Linked DNA regions of Homo sapiens: region 1 is linked to region 2. The links are contacts of gene promoters, found by promoter capture Hi-C in blood cells and fetal thymus (Javierre and others, 2016). All regions are on one chromosome and are shown on one strand. The core of a region is centred on a gene start or on the middle of the fragment in contact, and the rest is flanking DNA. Distances in the headings are between cores, read along the strand shown.

Region 1 (3,756 bases), core at 948-3,447, 130 kb after region 2:
AAACTCCCATTCACAATTGCTACAAAGAGAATAAAATACCTAGGAATACAGCTTACAAGGGACATTAGGGACCTCTTCAAGGGGAGCTACAAACCACTGCTCAAGGAAATAAGAGAGGACATAAACAAGTGGAAAAACATTCCATCCTCATGGATAGGAAGAATCATCATCATGAAAATGTCCATACTGACAAAAGTAATTTATAGATCAACACTATTCCCATCAAACTACCATTGACATTCTTCACAGAATTAAAAAAAAAAAACTACTTTAAATTTCATATGGAACCAAAAAGAGCCCATATAGCCAACACAGTCCTAAGCAAAAAGAGCAGAGCTGGAGGCATCACACTACCTGACTTCAAACTCTACTACAAGGCTACAGTAACCAAAACAGCATAGTACTGGTACCAAAACAGATATATAGACCAATGGAACAGAACAGAGGCCTCAGAAATAACACCACACATCTACAACCACCTGATCTTCGACAAACCTGACAAAAACAAGCAATGAGGAAAGGATTCCCTACTTAATACATGGTGCTGGGAAAACTGGCTAGGCATATGCAGAAAACTGAAACTGGATCCCTTCCTTACACCTTATACAAAAATTAACTCAAGATGGATTAAAGACTTAAATGTAAAACCCAAAACCATACAAACCTTAAAAGTAAACCTAGGCAGTACCATTCAGGACATAGGCATGGGCAAAGACTTCATGATGAAAACGCCAAAAGTAATTGCAACAATTGCCAAAATTGACAAATGGGATCCAATTAAACTAAAGGGCTTCTGCACAGCAAAAGAAACTCGCATCAGAGTGAACAGACAACCTACAGAATGGGAGAAAATTTTGCAATCTACCCTTCTGACAAAGGTGTAATATCCAGAATCTATAAGGAACTTAAACAAATTTACAAGAAAAAGCAAACAACTCCACCAAAAAGTGGGCAAGGTATATAAACAGACATTTCTCAAAAGAAGACATTTATGCGGCCAACAAACATGAAAAAAAAAAGCTCATCATCTCTGATTATTTGAGAAATGCAAATCAAAACCACAATTAGATACCATCCCACACTAGTCAGAATGGCAATTATTAAAAAGTCAAGCAACAGTAGGTGCTGGTGAGTCTGTGGAGAAATAGGAACACTTTTTGCACTGTTGGTGGGAATGTAGATTGGTCCAACCATTGTTGAGGACAGGGTGGTTATTCCTCAGGGATCTAGAACCAGAAATACGTTTTGACCTAGCAATCCCATTACTGGTTATACATCCAAAGGAATATAAATCATTCTACTAAAAGGCACATTCACACGTATGTTTATTGCAGCATTATTTACAATAGCAAAGACATGGAACCAACCCAAATGCCCATCAATTATATAGACTGAATAAGGAAAATGCAGTACATGTGCACCATGGAATACTATGCAGCCATAAAAAAAGAATGAGTTCATGTCCTTTGTAGGGACATGAATGAAGCTGGAAGCCATCATCCTCAGCAAACTAACACAGGAACAGAAAACCAAACACTGCATGTTCCCGCTCATAAGTGGGAGTTGAACAATGAGAACACATGGACAAGGGAGGGGAACATCACACACTGGGGCCTGTCAGGTGGTGGGGGCAAGGGGAGGGAGAGCATTAGGACAAACACCTAATGCATGCGGGGCTTAAAACCTAGAGGACCGGTTGATAGGTACAGCAAGCCACGATGGCACATGTATACCTATGTAACAAACCTGCACATTCTGTACATGTATCCCAGAACTTAAAGTAAAATAAACATTAAAATTTTAAAAAGTAAATCTGAGCCACCTTATGAGTAGTTCACAAACTGCATGAACACAGAATAACATAGGAAACTTTTTTGATAGCGCAGATATACTCATCTTCATTTTTTCCTTCTTTTTACTCTGTGCCTACCCCTACCCCAAGCTCCATTTTTGGAACTGAAAGGGAGAGAAATGGGAGTTGTTCTGTCTAGAAAATTTCCCCAGAGAATTCTGGTTTATACCCTTTCCCATCTAAGTAGGGCTTTGGTTGATTTTCAGTATTTTGAGATCAGAGTCCATGCTCATAACTGCTACGCAATAAAGCTTTCTCAATGCTAATTACTATATATCCCACAGGAAACCACTTTGGGAAATGCTTAAAGTATATGAATAATCTTAAAGCCAGTATAGCATAGTACCTAACAGAATGGGCTCTATAGTTAGAAGATTCCATTAAAAATACGGCTTCACAACTTACTAGACATATGACTATGACCAAGTTTTTAAGCTTTCAGGTCCTCAGTCATCACCTGTAAAATGATGACGACTGAACCTACTGAATAGGATTGTTATAAAATAAGGCATATTAAGCTCTGAGTATAGTACCCTGAATATAGTGAAAGATCAATAAATTTCAGCTGTGATGATGGTGATAATGAGGCTGAATGTGGGCAGTAATAGAATGATTTCTCGACAAGTTTAACAAGGTGAGTACATAAAAAACAACTAGAGCTATGTCAACTCATGAAAAGTAACTAGAGCTATGTTAACCTGCAAATAAAAGTAATGCTCCAGTTGACAAGTCTGACAAATGAACATGCTGCTCAGTTAAGAAAAACACAGGTCTCAAGTCTTCTACAAGGAGACGGAAACCAAAGACAATGCTATTATTCCCAATTAACGGGACAATATTGAATTCTTACCAAGTTATCAGATGATATTACAAGATCATGCAGAATTTAGCCCAAAGCTCTCTCAGAATTGACCTAAAATTTAAGCATGTGACTCACAGGCAGTAGCTCACAGATATTTATATGTGGAAAATACGTGACTATGTAACACCATTTCTGTTGCAGGTTTTTTTTTTCTGGTCTAAGAGCACACAGCAAAGAAAAATTTATACAAAAGTATTGTTTTGTATAAGGAGACACTTTTAGAAAAAGCAAAACAGCGTAATGTTGTTTGTATTAAATGTCTTTTCCTTATCTCCATTTTGAATGTACACATAGAATATAGTGAAACGATAAGAAAGGTTTCACCCAATGGCTATGCTCTCTTTAAAAATTGTTTATAGACATTCACTTCATTAGCCCTCATCCTAGGATGGCAAAAAGGTTTCATTCCAAGGGAACTCAAATCAACTGGTATTGAATGCCTGTGGCCTTTAGTTGAGAAATTCTTCTGAGGCCATGCCCAGGCTTAGCAGAAATGCATATTTGGATCAATAAATATATCTCACACATGTGGGAGGGAAAATAGTGGTTAATATTGCCAGATATTTTCTATTCCTGTTAATCCCAACCATGATTTTCTTATAGTAATGATAAAATGGTTGCTAAGAACTGGCTGCTCTGAAATACAAGTGAGAACAGAAAGAGATATAACACATGAACCGTGGAAGGACCTCCCTCCAAATCCATCACCTGAATGCAAGCATGTTAGTCTTGGAAAAATGACTAGGCCACTGGGAAGTCTGAAGTTTCTTCAGTTACAAATGACCAGCTACTAACAGGAGCAACAGCTATTTTGATTGAATCTGAATACCCATTTGCCCAAAGAAGAAGTGACATCAAAAAATGTCCTAGGAAACATTAGAGTGGAATATTTAATGTTCATCTTTATTAAAATTAATGGCTATTTTAAAGTTAGACTGTCCTTTGCATATCTAATCAACCCAGACTATTTCAAACAATATATTGAGTCAAAACATCTTCACAGGATATACTAGAGAGAAAAAAAATTACTCTCCTTGACACC
Region 2 (3,833 bases), core at 463-2,962:
TGACACCATGCAGGAAAAAGTCTTCTCATGTTTTAATATTAGTTACTTACAAATGAGTAACAAGTAACTGTAGCTACATTTATTGAACATTTCCTATCTGCTAAAGACCGTACATTTTACACACGTCATCTAGTTTAATTTTTGTAATGACTCATGAGGTTCTGTGATTATTTCTTTTTACAGATGAAGAAACATAGATTTGAGGAAGTTAATAAATATGTTCCAGATTATACCTATAGTAAATACTGGCGCTAGGAATGGAGCCTAGATCGTCTGACTCTGGAACTTGTGTTAAACCCATTTGAACCTGTAAATAACTCTGTGGATTAAGAACAAAGATTATTTCCATTTTATGGAGGAGTGGCAGAAAAGTGTGGTGGTTAGGAGAGCAAATGTAAGTGTTAGAAGAGTCCATTTTGATTCCGGTTCTGTCGTTTATCAGTTGTGAATTTGGGAAATGTATCTAACTCCTCTGAGATTTACAATGTCCTCAAATATCAAGATGTAGAGAACACTTAATCTCTTAGGGCCTCTCTGTCTTTGCCATCATCATCATGGTTATTACGTACTTTGGATTTTCTCATCTTAATTTTTTCTCCTACCTGAAATTGCCATGTTATTCCCCTTAAACCCTTAGATTAAGAGATGGCTGCAATGTACTACTATGCTGCTAATAGTAAATATTTATTGTACACTTACTATATGCCAAGTGCTTTTAGTGCATTATCTCATTCAATCTTTACAACCCCTCCACGAGATAAATACTGGTGTCATCTATAATTTATAGTTAGAAACAGAACTCGCCTAGAACTGGACATTGCTGATTTCACTTCCCCCTTTTCCTGCCCACCACCCTGACTGCCAACTGACTTCGGAACTCCAAAAAGGCATCCATGAAAACGACAGGAATTGCCTGCAGGAAATTGAATGCTCCAGGAGTTTGACACTAAAAAGATTGGGAACTGTCCACCAACTTGTGCTACCGAGAATAGTGGTTGTTGAAAGGAATTTCGGTCTCTATCCAAACTTACTTTTCCTCAGGGATGTGTCAATTACCTCCAAGTCCTGTTCAGAAGGGTAGCTGGAAAAACAGTGAAACCAAGTAACTCACCTGAGAACAAGCCGGGAGTAGTGCAAAGGAATCAACCAGACTCTTAATTTATTACAAAGTCCAGCCACTCCGTTTGCTTTCTAAAAACCTTGTTGCCTGGTATTGAGTAAAAGATGCTATAAAGGACGAACACGTTTGGAAGTAATAATAATCTGCTATTATGCGACATAATTTTCTCCACATTTGTTGTTATTTTTCTGATAATAAATTTCATACTTTTTATTGGAAAACCACAGAAAATGCAAAAAATAGCTAAGCCGTTGGTATGTTTCTATCTAGATTTCAATTAAATTTTAATTATTCTCTCCCCGTGCCTAGCCCCCCTTGCCCCATTTTTAAAAAGACCTGGAGTTCAGGGTAGGAGACATCAAGAGCATCCTAGAGGGCAGCAGCACAAATTCACTCCCCTCCAGACCCTGCAGCTTGCTTCGCCCATCTCCCCTCCCCCTGAGCTTGGTCGCTTATCATTGGTCATTGCCATGGCAACCAGCAGCTGCCGGGCCAGCAGCCTCTACCGCAGCAGGGGTGGGGCACTGGGGGAGGGGGAGAGAGAGAGGAGGAGCCAGAGGAGGTGTCTGCTGCAAGTTCCTGGCTGCTTCCGAGCTCACCCCATCCTCCGAGAGGGAGGAGGCCCAACTGGTGATGCTGCTGCTGCTGCTGCTGCCGCCGCCGCCGCCTCTATTGCTGATACTCTAGTGGGGCTGGAAGGGTGGTTCCTATTCGCACCATCGCCAACCAGAGACAGAGGGAAAAAAAAAACCGGCAGCCACTGCTGATGTTGGGTTCGGAGGCTGCATCCGACTCGGTCACAAGGAAAATGGATTCAGTTTGCATCTCTCCCTCCTTTAAACAGCTTCTCCGGGTCTCAGCATGGTGAGTAGGAAACAGTAGGGCTCCCTTCTTGGTTTAGAGTGTTCTTATTTGACCTGTGTATACATTTCTGGCCTGAACTTGAACAATGACTCCCGTGCCTCAGACTAGAAGGGGGAGATGTGGAGACAGAGATGAGGATGGAGGGAGAGGAAGCTTGCCAGGAAGAGAGAAGTGAGAAGACAACCTCTTGTGTTTAAAAAAAAAAAATGGTGTTCTGATTTTATCTCTAACTGGCTCAGAATGCAGACTGAGCCACTTGGTGCCTTTTTTCCTAAGCTTAGCAACAGCATCAGGGGTTGGAAAAAGAGCTAACAACAAGAAGAGGGTGTTATTGAAAGGAATCATTTCATTTGCAGCTCTCACATACAGGGTTGGGCCTTCTTCAGAAATACATTTGGTGTCTCATAAGCTTACCAGACTCATTATAAGGTGGTTTTGCTTATTTTATTGATTGCTTAGAAAAAGTGGCCCCAGAATTTGACATTTTATTTTATATTCTAATATACTCTTGTTGAGAAATCATTTGCAAGACCCAGTTTTATTTTATACGTAGATTTGACTGTGAACTTACACATGTATATCTTATGGATATACAGATCATATATACACATGTCACTTAGCATTTATATTGCATTTATGAAGCATATTTATATGTAGGGTGTGCTTTGCAACCATTTTTATGGGTTACATATGTCCTTGCATGCCTGGAAGTAATTGCATGTTTTTGAAACTATGCTTCTGGTTTATATTATTATTCATTGGCTTTATTTGGATTAATGTGAAATTTACTCTGGTTATTGTCCCTTAGTTTCATTGTGACCGATTGGAACAGATGCCTATCGTTTGATCTGTGTCATAGAACTAGATGCAAATTTGTAGCCTGCCTCTTTATTTTTAATTGGGTTTGTGGGGGATGATATTGAGGACTCTGAATTTACAATGATGGGAATGGGAGGCGGTTTGTGGTATTATTTTGTGTCTAGCATCTTACCAAATCAATGTTGAAGCAAATCAGTTTTCTTGAAATGCCACCCCAACCTTTTCATGTTTGTGCCTTGTGTCCCAGGAAGCACAGCTAAGCTGGAAGGTGAAATGTATTCATTTTATTTAATAGTGCTGCTATCTGATGTTCATTCCTTCAGTATCCAGGAACCATTTCACAGTTCTCTCAGATGTTGTATTAAGGGTCTCCTTCTGTAAATAATTAAGTAGGAAAGTAGGATTGTTTTGAAAATCTAGGTATTCCCAAGCACCCTAGCCCAGCCGTTTCCAAATTAGTCTGCTTATACAATGAAATGAAACCAGAGAGTGAGCAAAGCGAGCAGGAGAATGTGTGGCTTGTAGCTGAAATGGGGGTCTATTGTAATTTACAAATGCTTACTGGGATCTGCTTGACCTTTTATTATGTCAAGGCTTTAAGGCAGTTCAGGAGACTAAAGATGCGTGAGATGAGGAGGTTCCATTCCCGCCCAGGATAATGGATTTCATTGAATTAAAGCCAGAAAAAATTATGTAGGTAAAGTGTATTAGTAATATTACATTTACCACATGGGCTATTATAGTTTTATCCATTATTCTCTTCTCTAACAATATCATTGTCAGTACAGACATTTTTTACAATGTAAAATAACAATTGTTTGGGTCTTTAGTCTTGCATCTGATTCTACATACACCCCCCACATTTATAATTTTCACATGTATTTGAACCAGGTTTATAGTTTAATTTTGCTGAGAATAATTGTTCTATTTGGTTTATACATGAGAAGGGCCCTTGGTGACTCAATTGTGCATGTGCTCATAGCATGTTATATATTATAGATCCATAGCTTTGTAAACTCATGCTACTTTG

Evidence for each region. The method cuts DNA at HindIII sites, captures the fragments that hold promoters and counts their contacts. A CHiCAGO score of 5 or more calls a contact.
Region 1: a contact is called between a fragment that was not itself captured here and the fragment with the promoter of JAKMIP2 in region 2, in 2 of 17 cell types (fetal thymus and megakaryocytes). The highest score is 5.9, in fetal thymus.

The regions. Positions count from the first base shown.
Region 1 is chr5:147,650,736-147,654,491 of GRCh38, reverse strand. All of the region lies in intron 3 of JAKMIP2 (janus kinase and microtubule interacting protein 2), which reads left to right. The region is part of intron 3 of JAKMIP2-AS1 (JAKMIP2 antisense RNA 1); the gene reads right to left. Among named protein-coding and RNA genes, the nearest start is that of JAKMIP2-AS1, 93 kb to the right of the region's middle. The HindIII fragment of the contact is 184 bases long and covers 2,106-2,289 here.
Region 2 is chr5:147,780,607-147,784,439 of GRCh38, reverse strand. JAKMIP2 (janus kinase and microtubule interacting protein 2) reads left to right here and starts at 1,712. Exons shown (of 22, transcript NM_001270941.2): 1 at 1,712-1,984. The HindIII fragment of the contact is 4,284 bases long and covers 1-2,139 here.